2 separate regions of the Homo sapiens genome follow, and region 2 is linked to region 1. Evidence: promoter capture Hi-C in 16 types of primary human blood cells and fetal thymus (Javierre and others, 2016). All regions are on one chromosome and are shown on one strand. Each heading gives the region's core, a stretch centred on a gene start or on the middle of the fragment in contact. The rest is flanking DNA. Distances are from core to core; before and after follow the strand shown.

The links. The method cuts DNA at HindIII sites, captures the fragments that hold promoters and counts their contacts. A CHiCAGO score of 5 or more calls a contact.
Region 2: a contact is called between a fragment that was not itself captured here and the fragment with the promoter of ZC3H12C in region 1, in 2 of 17 cell types (M0 macrophages and endothelial precursors). The highest score is 5.9, in M0 macrophages.

What each region holds. Positions count from the first base shown.
Region 1 is chr11:110,088,695-110,096,551 of GRCh38, reverse strand. It overlaps ZC3H12C (zinc finger CCCH-type containing 12C), which reads right to left and starts at 3,160. Exons shown (of 6, transcript NM_033390.2): 1 at 3,120-3,160. The coding sequence starts at 3,140. RefSeq lists silencers at 2,801-3,270, 3,331-3,590, 3,891-3,950. The HindIII fragment of the contact is 5,266 bases long and covers 535-5,800 here.
Region 2 is chr11:110,432,001-110,435,685 of GRCh38, reverse strand. All of the region lies in intron 1 of FDX1 (ferredoxin 1), which reads right to left. Among named protein-coding and RNA genes, the nearest start is that of FDX1, 3.9 kb to the right of the region's middle. The HindIII fragment of the contact is 2,203 bases long and covers 149-2,351 here.

The DNA.
Region 1 (7,857 bases), core at 1,911-4,410:
GACTTTGGGCAAGTTACTCAAACTCAGTGTCTCTGCTTCCGCATCTATAGACTGGGGATAATAGAAGCAATGCATAAAGGTGTTCAAGGGTTAAATGAGATAATGCATGTAGACTTAGCATGTTGTCTGGCACATCAGTGTACAAACGTGACTATTACTATGTCACCTATAAAAACCAAAACAACAGTAGAGAATTGATGCCGCCACAACACATATCTGCAGTTATCTTTATACTATCAGATGCCAAAAATTACTATGTGTCAGATATTTAATTTACACACTAATCCTACAAAAATTTTAAACAAATCTTGAATCACCAAGAAATTAGAGATCTATTCTGGGGTGAAATAGATCTTTCTTAAAAAATCACATTCTTGATTGATCATCCTTTCTCTGAACTATTAATTGCAAAACAGCAGCAGAGATTATAACATGTGTTTTGTTGAATCTTCACACATTTTCACTTTGTAAAGTCATGAGATTTCATATGCTGCAGGTCCATGAGGCATATTAGCACTTAAAACACAAGAAGCTTTTTTAGAACATTTGGTAGATTTACGATCAAACTCCGGAATCTCAATATTTTAGGCTTAAATTTGGAATCCTGATTGAATTAATTTTCATTATTCACTGACCATCTTATTTACTTAATATTGCTCTAATAAAAACTATACTCCAAAACTCTATTTGCCAACTTACCCACTCACTACTCCTATCATCTGCCCCATGCGCCACATACTGGACCGCCCACTCCCTGCTTTCCTTCCAGGGTTCACTGACTCATTTGGAAATGACTCCCAACCAGCTCTACCTACTCAAATCCTACCTTTGAGGCACTCCCCAGTACCTGAATTTCTCACTTCTTTTTTCACGGAACTTAGTACTTTCCACATAGCATTATGTTCGTTCATAATCTATCCTTTTAGAGGTCGGGGGCCTTACACAGCAGCTAGAGTGATAATAAGTAATTATTTGCAGAGAGAACAGAAGCATACCAGTTTCAAATGAGCAATAACTGCAGATTAGTGTTATTCTACGTTCCAACAGTAAAAAGATAAAAACATTCCCTACTTAATACCTTGTTTGTTTCTTTAAAAATGCTATCAAATCAGAATTAAAGAATTCTAAATTTATGTACAAAAACAATGAAACACACTAAGAAGTTATAACAGCAACATTTTTACGTCTGTGATAGTAATTAAAATTAATGTAGCAACCACTGTGGTCTGCTAGAATGAAGACCTAGTTGTAGAATGAGAAAAATGTTTTAAACATAAAATTTCTATTAACAACTTGGGATCCGATTTTGCAGACGTTGGTAACCCATGAAAACCTAGCTCCAGAGAAGCCCATAATATAAAATAGGGTATTTTTATATAGTCTGGTCATTAAAACAAAAATTTAGTAAAAGGAAGTGACTAATAAAAACTCTCATCAGTATAGAAACATTCCAAGTTTCTGTTTCCTATCCTTTAATATTTCCCATTATACTAAAATAGTTCCGTTAGACTTCCCTTATTAAATAAAGGCTAAAAAATGCCAGTCACTTTGTTGTTGTTTATTTAAAAGTTCATTTTACTTTGGTTATAATGTTTAAGTACTTTTATGGTGACCAAATACTAGAAGTAGAATCTTGTAACTTACTTTGAAAGTAAGATAGACTCTTTCATGTAAAAATATTAAAACATTTTGAACTATGGGTACATAGTCAACAGGCCATTCTATTTTTATGGTACCATCCAGTAGACAGATTTAGGTAACTGGAAATAAGCATGCCAAATTGTTGAAGAAAACAGGTGAACAGGGGGTCAAGTCCGAAATAGGCATCTTCCTGGGCTTATCACACTAAGATTAATTTTACCAATGTTTGATGAAGCTATCATGTAGTCAAACACAGAGAACCCTAAACTTAAGAAACTGCTACTAAAATTAATTGTACATGTGATTAAATGAATGGAAGTCATACCCTCTAAATCCTAAGTCCATTAAGACAAAAACATTTATAACACACTGTATTTATGACTTCTTGTGGTTCTTGAAAAGTCAAAAATTGTGTTTGAGGTTTATCTCGTTTTCCGTTTATAATATGCATTTTAAAAGTGGAAAAACTCAAGCACGTAACAAGTGAAAAACTGAACAACGTTGCCAAATTCCTAAACATACAATACTTAGCTCCAATTATCTCTGCATCTATTCTAAAATGGTTTAAAAAAAGTCTGAATCAATAAGCGCCTGATGGGCCTGGGATACTCCAATACAGTCTTGTCAACCAATAGGAAAACTTTTCCTAAATCTGGATTCGTCTTTCATCTCTTTATCACAAAACACCGAACACAAACCGAGATTGTTAACGGATAACCAAATGGCAAGAACCCCAGACAGAGTAATCAGTACTTGGATGTTAGGGCTGTTTTTAAGGACTTGAAATGAGACAGCTTAGGGAAGAAATGCGGGATTCATTTCTCCAAGTTATATTTGTAACACTTCTTAATACGGAGTTAAAAATGTGAACAGCCGAGCTAAAATGAACGCAGCGTGTAAAAGGGATCTGGACTGGAGCCTGGGGGTGAAGGAGGGACGAGGGGGGAGTGAGGGGCTTTCGTGACGCTCGGCCTGGGGTTGCTGGCGATCTGGATGGAGGGATGGATAGTTAAGCGAATGGCCAGGGCTGGATCCGAGATGCCAAGAGATGTCTCGCCCCACGAGCGCGCGCGAGTCTGAGCCGCTGGGGCAGCGCAGTGTGTCCGTTTCCATCCGCGGCGCCCGAGCCCGCCTCCATGTTCGCGATCTATGCCCCCGGGCGGGCGGGGACCGGTGCCTTAGGCCGCGGGGCCGGGAAGCCCGGCCTCACCTCGCCCGAAATCCCGGCGGGGACGGCGTTGCCCGAGGGGAGGATGCGCTGGGCTTTCCGCTCGGCCCCACCTGAGCGACCGGAGCTCGGTGACTCGACCTCCGGAGCCCGACCCGCCTGGGCCTGGAGATCACACGGCGAGGTCGCTGCGGCCCCGGCGCCCTCCGCCTGGCGCCCGGGCGCGGCCCCGCGGCCCTCCCCACGACCGGCTACCCCAGGACCACTCTCGCCGCGGTCCGCGTCCCCCACCCCCTTCCCGAGGACAAACCTGGGAGCCGCCACCCGGCATAGCCAGCCCCGCGAGAAAGCGGCGAGCGGGCGGCGGGGCCCGCGGAGAAGCGGCCACCGCGGCCCTCCCGCGCCAAGCCGCGCCCGCCCGCGCGCCCTCTCCGCGGGCCGCAGCCCCGGCGCCCCCTCCCTGGGTTGCACAACTCACAGCCCCAACGCGCGCGCACTCGAATCTGTTGCTCAACCTACTTGCATTCTCTTCTCCGCAGCCATCACTACATGCCCTGGAGCTGGGGCAGCCCCGGGGCCCTCCGGCAGGCGGCCGCCTCTCGCCTCAGCCCTGGGCTGCCGCGGCCGCCGCTAGGGCGCGGGGCGAGCGCGAGGCTCCCTCATGCCTCCCGCCCGGACAGCTGGCCGCACGCCAGGGCCCCGGCTCGGGCGCGCCCGAGCGCTGGGCTCGGCTCGGCCCTGCCCTTCGTCCGTGCCGCTGCTCCGCGGGCGAGAGCGAACCCGGCTCCGCCACCTCGCTCCGCGCTCCTCGCCCGCCCGCCCGCCCGCAGCCACCGCAGCCGCGCCGCTTCCTCCTCCCCTTCCCTCTTTTCCTTCTCCTCCGTCGCCGCCTCTGGAGCCGAGGTTGGCAAACCAGCACCTGCTGCTGGAGAACGCCGAGAACTGAAACAGGAAACCCTGAGCCAAGGGGAAAACCCGAGAGGCGTGGAGAGGGGTGAGGGGAGCTGCTGGAACCTGTCGGGCTCGACCCAGCCGCTGGGGCTGCCCGAGGTTCCCGCGCCGCCTCCCCTCGCGCCTATTCCCTGCCCCGGCCCAACCCAGCGGTCCCGACCTCCCCGCGCCTCTCCCCCGACCTGGTGCAGGACGGCGCCTTTCCGCTCGGCGACACCTTCTCCACCCAGCAGTAACACTGATCATGTCCCGGGCAGTCAAGGAGATCGACGGGCCGCCTTCTTAGGGCAGGTTCCCCGTAGTTGTTTACTTATCAATATTCCGTGATGAGGAAAAACCACACCCTGCATTAGCAAGGCCAATAAAAGAATTTAAACAAATGAAGCTGTTGGGATTTCACCCAGGGATAGGACTTCTTTCAGCAAGGAAATTGGCTTTGATGGAAATGGCAATCGTGTCAAAATCGAGGTTGAACCCAAGATACATCCAGATCTCTTTCAGGAGATCGGAAGGAAACAGCCCTTTGCACAGAGGTGGGCGCCTGAATCGCAGGCTGAAAAGCACCGGGAGCAGAGAGCCTTTCTACTTCTGTGAATCGTACAACACCCAGCACAAACTAAGTCAATGTTTCAGAAATGTTCAAATAACCTTATTCGCCTGTCCTTGGAATCATTACGAGCAGCCTAGGGCAGGATGAGTCTGCTTCTGGAGTGAGAGGGAGGGACACTGAATGGGTTGTGCCCCTACCATATGCCACGGGCCAAATAGCCTGCTTTAAATCCACTGTCCCGTTTGTCACCACAGCCATGTGAGCTGGGTATTAGAAACCCCTTTATCCATCAGAAAATCGAGGTTAGAAAATTTACCTGCAGTTACACAGCTTGAATGTGAGGTATTCAGGTCTGTTACATCTAAAGGACGCATTTGTTTCACTGGACCACGATTCATGCCTTTGATCAACTTTTTACCTTTCATAAAATTAGTTTTGCCTCTGAGTTGTTTTCAGTAGGGCATATATATGGTTTAAGCCTGGATCTGTTGAATTTGCTTGGACTGCCTAATGGTAGTGATATTCATGATGCTTATTGGGGTTCAAACTTGATAATTTTCAGTTTAATATTCTCTACCAAATGTAGGCCTTTATGGCTCAGTTGAGCAGCACAGATGTCCCCATCTTTTTGGCCAGCATCAGTTGCTCTTTAGCTGTTGATGTTGGGGTCCCAGCTGAGAGTATCCTACTGGCTGGTGCACATGAGCATCCTGACTCTGCCTGTGAGATGAAAGGAGAGTGTCTTACTGAGCCTGTTTTCCACGTCAGTAGGCCAGTCATGAAGCCGATTAAATAAAATTGCAGGTAGGCAGGTAGGCTGCCTTCTCTGGTTCTGTGGTGCACACTTTTTTTTTATATAGAGTCTGACCCTGTCGCCCAGGCTGGAGTGCAGTGGTGCGACCTCAGCTCACTGCAACCTCCGCCTCCTGGGTTCAAGCGATTCTCCTGCCTCAGCCTCCCCAGTAGCTGGGATTACAGGTGTGTGTCACCACATCTGGCTAGTTTTTGTATTTTTAGTAGAGACAAGTTTTCCCCATGTGCCCAGGCTGGTCTCAAACTCCTGGCCTCAAGTGATCCATCTTCCTTGGCCTCTCAAAGTGCTGGGATTACAGGCGTGAGCCACTGTGCCCGGCCAGGTCCACATTTTTTCATACCACCCTGAAGACCCTTAGGAAGATTGGTAGCCTGCTGTCTGCAGCCGGGTCAGATTTTTATTGGCAGGAAAGTAGGGGCTGGGAAAGCAGCCCCTTTACACTGTGCCAAAACCTTGGAGGTCTCTGGAGCAGAGTTAGAGGCCCTCAATCTTAGGATCTCTAAGGGACTTAGCAGGGACTTAGAACGAGACTGGCTGTTTGACGATAAGTGACAGCATCTATGGCACGGCTTTAGTGATGCCAGGAAGTTCCTCCACTCCGCAGTATACTGCCCACACAGTCTACCTCTTACCTTGTATCCCACAGTTGACTCAGCTGAACTCCATTGATTAAGCTTGGTTAAAAATCAAGGTAAAAGAGATGAGTAATAGTTATAATAACTAACATTTAATGAATGCTTACCATGTTCCAGATACTATTCTAAGCACTTTGCATGCGTTGTCTCATATAATGCCCACAAAACCCCTATAAGGAAACACCTATCACTATTTCCATTTCACAGACGAGACAACTAAGACCAAGATTATAGTCAGTAAATAACAGTGCAGGGGCTAAAATGCAGTCAATTTGACTCTAGAATCAGGACCCATTATGTGAATAAGATACAGTAACTGCCCTTATTACTTTACTATTTATTTGGAGAAATAAAAACACATGAAAAATTAAAAGAAAACTAAGAAGAGAAGATAATTTATAGGTGTCAAATGTGAGTATAGGTAATAAATGCCATGAGGTATCAGAAGACAGAGAAATCACTTTAGGTTGGGGTGGTTAGGAACACTTACATAGAAGATGAGTCGGGGTTTCAAAAAGGGGAGATTTGAGCTGGATTGTGATGAATGAGTAGTATTTTGATAAGTGGAGAGGATAAGGAAGAACATATTCATAGAATTGATAACATATACGAAGAGTGCCAGGGAAATTTGGGGAACAGGATAACAAACAGCTGGAAAGGAAAAGTAGGACAAAATTACAGAGATTTGCAAAACAAGCAAGGAATACACTCTCACTCATGCACAGAGTGAGAGAGCAAGAGAGAGAAAGAGAGAATTTGGCTCCATGTAGTCTGTGTACTAGTAGGGAATCTGGAAGGATTTTGGTCAGAAAGTGATAATGTCCCATTAGAGGAATACCAATATTGTGATGGTCACCGGATGGTTTGGAAAATGGAGGGAAACAAGTTTGCAGGCTAATATGGGAGAATTGACCTGAAATCACGAAGTGGACAGTGAGAGAGGGAAAAGAAGAAATGGGCTAGTGAGACACTGTGGTATACAAATCATAGAGGCTTTGTGAATGATTGAGTGCACTTAGTGGAGATGGACTTAAGAAAAGGAAGAAGTCTAAAATGACTTCATGGGTGCGAATGTGAAACCTGTAGCATTACTAATGGAAAAAAGGGGCAGTGTATGAGTACAGAAACTACTTTTAAAAACGTTCAGAATAGTTTGGTTTTAGGCATGTATTTGAGTTAACAGCAGGATATGCATGTGGAAATATTTTATAGTCCTATCTCAAAAAGGCAGATAGTTCAGTAAATGAGAGTATTCATTATCTACTATTGAGAGCGTCAGTATGAAAATTTAAAATTTTCACTATGATAACAACAACCAGGCATGGCTGTTCATCTTTAATAAACCAGAGTGGAAAGAAAATTTCAAATAAACATAAAATGTTTATATGACTCAGTATTAAATAGGCATTAGGGAATTCCACTCATATTCTCTTTTTACCCCCAAATTATATTTACTTAGAGAGAAAGAGACAGAGAGAGAGAGAGATAATGAATATATTGGGAAGAATTTTCATGGGTTCAGAGGATGTTAGGATAATGAAAAGAAACTTAGAGATCATTGCAAAATTGAGGATCAAATTCTGAACATCTGATAGTAGACTTCAAAACAGGCATTAGGCAAATATGGCACTTTAGCTATTATTGATTCTGGATAGCCAAATCTTTTTTGGTTACAAAGTTAAGTCTGGACCTTGGATTGAGACTTGGAATTGCACATAATTAAAAAGCTCTAGTGGCTGTGGCTTCAGAGTAGGCAAAATCTTGGAATAGACTCACTAGTAAAAAGCAAATGCTTTGGAAAGAGCAGCTAGAGGGAGGATGGTCACAAAGGCAGGAGTCCTACCTTCCAAAATATGGCGCTTAGGTAGACTTCCACACACCTAGATTCACATTTGAGCCTTAAAAGGTAGAGTTTCAGATCCTCCTCACATCTCACCTTGGCTGCCTTAGTCCAGAACTTCCAATTACCTTGTCACCTTATCTAAGACCTCCCAGGGCTTCAGGTGGTCACCCTCAGGTGGCACACCTCCTGGCAACTGCTTTTAGTTCTATTTAGAGGTTTTCCGGTGGTGTCCTTAGGAGTTTTCTCATTGAAAAC
Region 2 (3,685 bases), core at 1-2,500, 340 kb before region 1:
TGTAGTGACGGGGTGCCACCATGTTGCTCAAGCTGGTCTCAAATTCCTGGCCTCAAGCCATCTTCTCAACTTGGCCTCCTAAAACTCTGAGATTACAGGCCTGAGCCACCATGCCTAGCCGAAGGTATTTTCTTTTCTTTCCAAAGCTTATTTGGAAATCAAAGGCATATATATCTACCCACCTACCAGGTAATAAGCTCTACTACCTTACAGGAAATGGCAATGACTACCTGGTCAACGCCACCTGGTGGCCTCAGTATATGTCTCCCTAATAGTCACAGTTATAAAACATTTGGCAATTATTATCACTCATGAACTCTATTTTACTCTCATACAAGCCAGTGCAGTAGCTTGCACCTGTAACCCCAGTACTTCGAGAAGCTGAAGTGGGAAGATTGTTTGACGCCAGAAGTTTGAGACCAGCCTGGGCAACATGGCAAGATCCCATCTTTACAAAAAATAAAATAATTAGCCAGGTGTGGTGATGTGATCTGTAGTCCCAGCTAATTGGGAGGCTGAAACGGGAGGATCCCTTGAGCCCAGGAGGAGGAAGAGGCTGCAATGGGATATGATTGCACCACTGCACTCCAGCCTGGGCAACACAGCAAGACCCTGTCATTTAAAAAAGAAAAGGCCAAGTGTGGTGGCTCATACCTGTACTCCTAGCACTTTGGGAGGCCGAGGCAGGGGACTGCTTGAGCCCAGGAGTTTGAGACCAGCCTGAGCAACACAGAGAGACCCTATTGCTACAAAAAATAAAAATAAAAATGAGATGGTTGTAGGTGTATGAAAAATAAAAGGCATGGTGGTATTTGCCCATAGTACCAGCTACTCATGGGGCTGAGGTGGATCACCCGATCCCAGAAGTTCAGGGCTGCAGTGAGCCGTGATTACACCATTGCACTCTAACCTGGGCAACAGCTCAAGGCCCTGTCTCAAAAAAAAAAAAAAAAAAAAAAACAAAAAAAGTCATCACACAGCTCTCTGAAAAACATGAATGTGTCCATAAAAGACTAGACCAGGGTTGTAGTGAGCTTCTAAAAAGCAAATCATGGCCGAGCATGGTGACTCACGCCTGTAATTCCAACACTTTGGGAGGCCAAGGCGGGCGGATTACCTGAGGTCAGAAGTTCAAGACCAGCCTGGCCAACATGGCGAAACCCCGTCTCTACTAAAAATACAAAAATTAGGCATGGTGGTACATGCCTGTAATCCCAGCTACTCGGGAGGCTGAGGCAGGAGAATCGCTTGAACCCGGAAGGCAGAGGTTGCAGTGAGCCGAGATCAAACCACTGCACTCCAGCCCGGGTGGCAGAGTGAAACTCTGTCTCCAAAAAAAAAAAAAAAAAAATCAATAGGGCGATTGCTTTTCCAGTGCTACATAGAATACTACTGCTGAGAGATGTTGTTTAGTAGTTTTCTGCGTATTTGACATCTCATTTCAGTCCACATTGTATACTTACAAATCAAAGGGACTAGAAAAAGTTTATTTGTTTGAATCTGTAAGATAAATACCTCCTTACATGTTTTTTTAAGATAGTATGTTAACTATCAGCTAGCTGACTTAAATTTCCTTCACTTCTCACAAACATCCCTCCAAAATTTGAGAAGCCATTATACTAAAAACTAGATCCTTATTCCTCCACCATTGGTCATTTTAATTTTTACCTCACACTTGAAAAGATTCTCTTCAACTTAAAATAATGAGTTGTTATTCTTATTACTACCAGTAGATGGCAATAGCCCATCAAACAAATCTTTAAGTAAAACTCAGAATTAAATAATTTCAGAGCCATAACTATCTCGAAAGTTATCAAGTCCAGTGATCCCATTTCACAAATGAGGCAACTGAAGCCCCACTGGGATAATGCCCTCCCTAATATTATAACACTGGGAAAAAAAACAGGATTCTATTCATTAAAACTCATCAAAAGGGTGTGTGTGTGTGTACCAGAATGTTCCTCAAAAGGGCCTGCGCTCTCCAACTTCTTTTCACAGCCAAAACATGCTTTAAAACTAGTATTCCCACATATTATTCATAATTTTCAACATGAATAACTGCCATTTTTTTCAAAGTACAATGGCTGAGAATGAAAATACCCTAGAGGCAGGGAGGCCACTTTGGAGGTTATCAAAACAGCATAAACTAATCAGGGACAGAGAATGCAGTGACTTAACAGACATCCAGGAGGTAGACCAAAAGGTTTTAGTGACCATCTACATAAGATAAACTGAAAAGCGGAAAGAAAAACATTGGGATTTCCAGCTCACACAATTAGGTGGTACCATTTAACCTAGGTTTAAGACAGGAACCAAAGGAACTTTGGGGAAGACAGAAATAAGTTGAAGCTTAGACCTGCTGAATTTAATAATGAAAAAGCCAGATGAGAATGTCCAAACACCAGATGGCAATATGGGTATGGGTCTGAGCCCAGCAGAGAAGTCTAGAGATTTGACATCAACGAATGCCTGGTAGCTAAAGCTACAGGAAGCACATTAGAAAGAATTCCATCATTTATACACACTACTGAAAGCCAGAGGTTTCAGCGTTGCTGTTCTTCTGAAGCACTCTAGAGCTAAGCTTACAGCAAAGGAATTCGAAATCTCTTACATCAGCCTCCTCTTCTATAAAATTGGACAACATTAATCTTATAGTTCTGACAATGTATGCAAAATACGTAACACATAGTAGAATTCAACACACACTGATTAATAACTGTTATTTAAAGACCAAGCCCTTTTGCTAAGAAGCCCAACCTGTTGGTCTGTATTAAAGGTAAACAGCCCTACAAAAAACTGCCAAGTAAGAGTATTAACAGGTTTACCAAAGAAGAGGAGAGGAGGCGGAAACGAAAGAAAAATGTAATTCTTAAGTTGAAAGAGTATGGAACCTAAGAGTCAGAAGATGTAGACCCTATGCTGGGAGTGGTCACTCACGCCTGTAATCCCAATACTTTGGGAGGCTGAAGCAGGCAGATTACTTGAGGCCAGGGGTTCCAGACCAGGCTGGTCAACATAGTGAAATCTCATCTCTACTAAAACTACAAAACTTAGCCGAGTGTGGTGGCACGCGCCTGTAATCCCAGATATTCGGGTGGCTGAGGCACGAGAATCGCTTGAACCTGGGAGGTGTAGGCTGCAGTGAGCCATGATGGCACCACTGCACTCAGGTGAAGAGTACACCAACACCTCCAAAATCACCACTAAAGAACTAACCCATTAACCAAACACCACCTGTGCCCCCAAAACTACTGAAATTTTAAAAATAAATAGAAATTTAAAATTTTTTTAAAATCCGCAAAAACTTCTTGAGTTCTAGTCCTAGTTTTGCCAGCTACTTAATATGAAATTTTTATTCCCATTTATCTACCCTCCCTACCTCATAGAATTGTCTTAAGAGTCATACGAAACAATACACGTGAAAGATCTTTGCTACCTGAATCACTGCAAACCCCCTTGTGTCACGGTATTTTAGAGTAAAAGGAGTTTTTCTGACTCTCAATTACTGATAGCTTATCGAGTTGTTAAACTTCAAAGACAGAACTACAGTTTCTAGAACTGCTCTGTCTGTCTATAAGAACTTTGTGCCATAACAAAGATGTTCTACACATACTTGCAATGTCCAATACAGTAGCCACTAGCCACATGTGGCTACTGAGAACTCGAAATGTGGCTAGTGTAACTA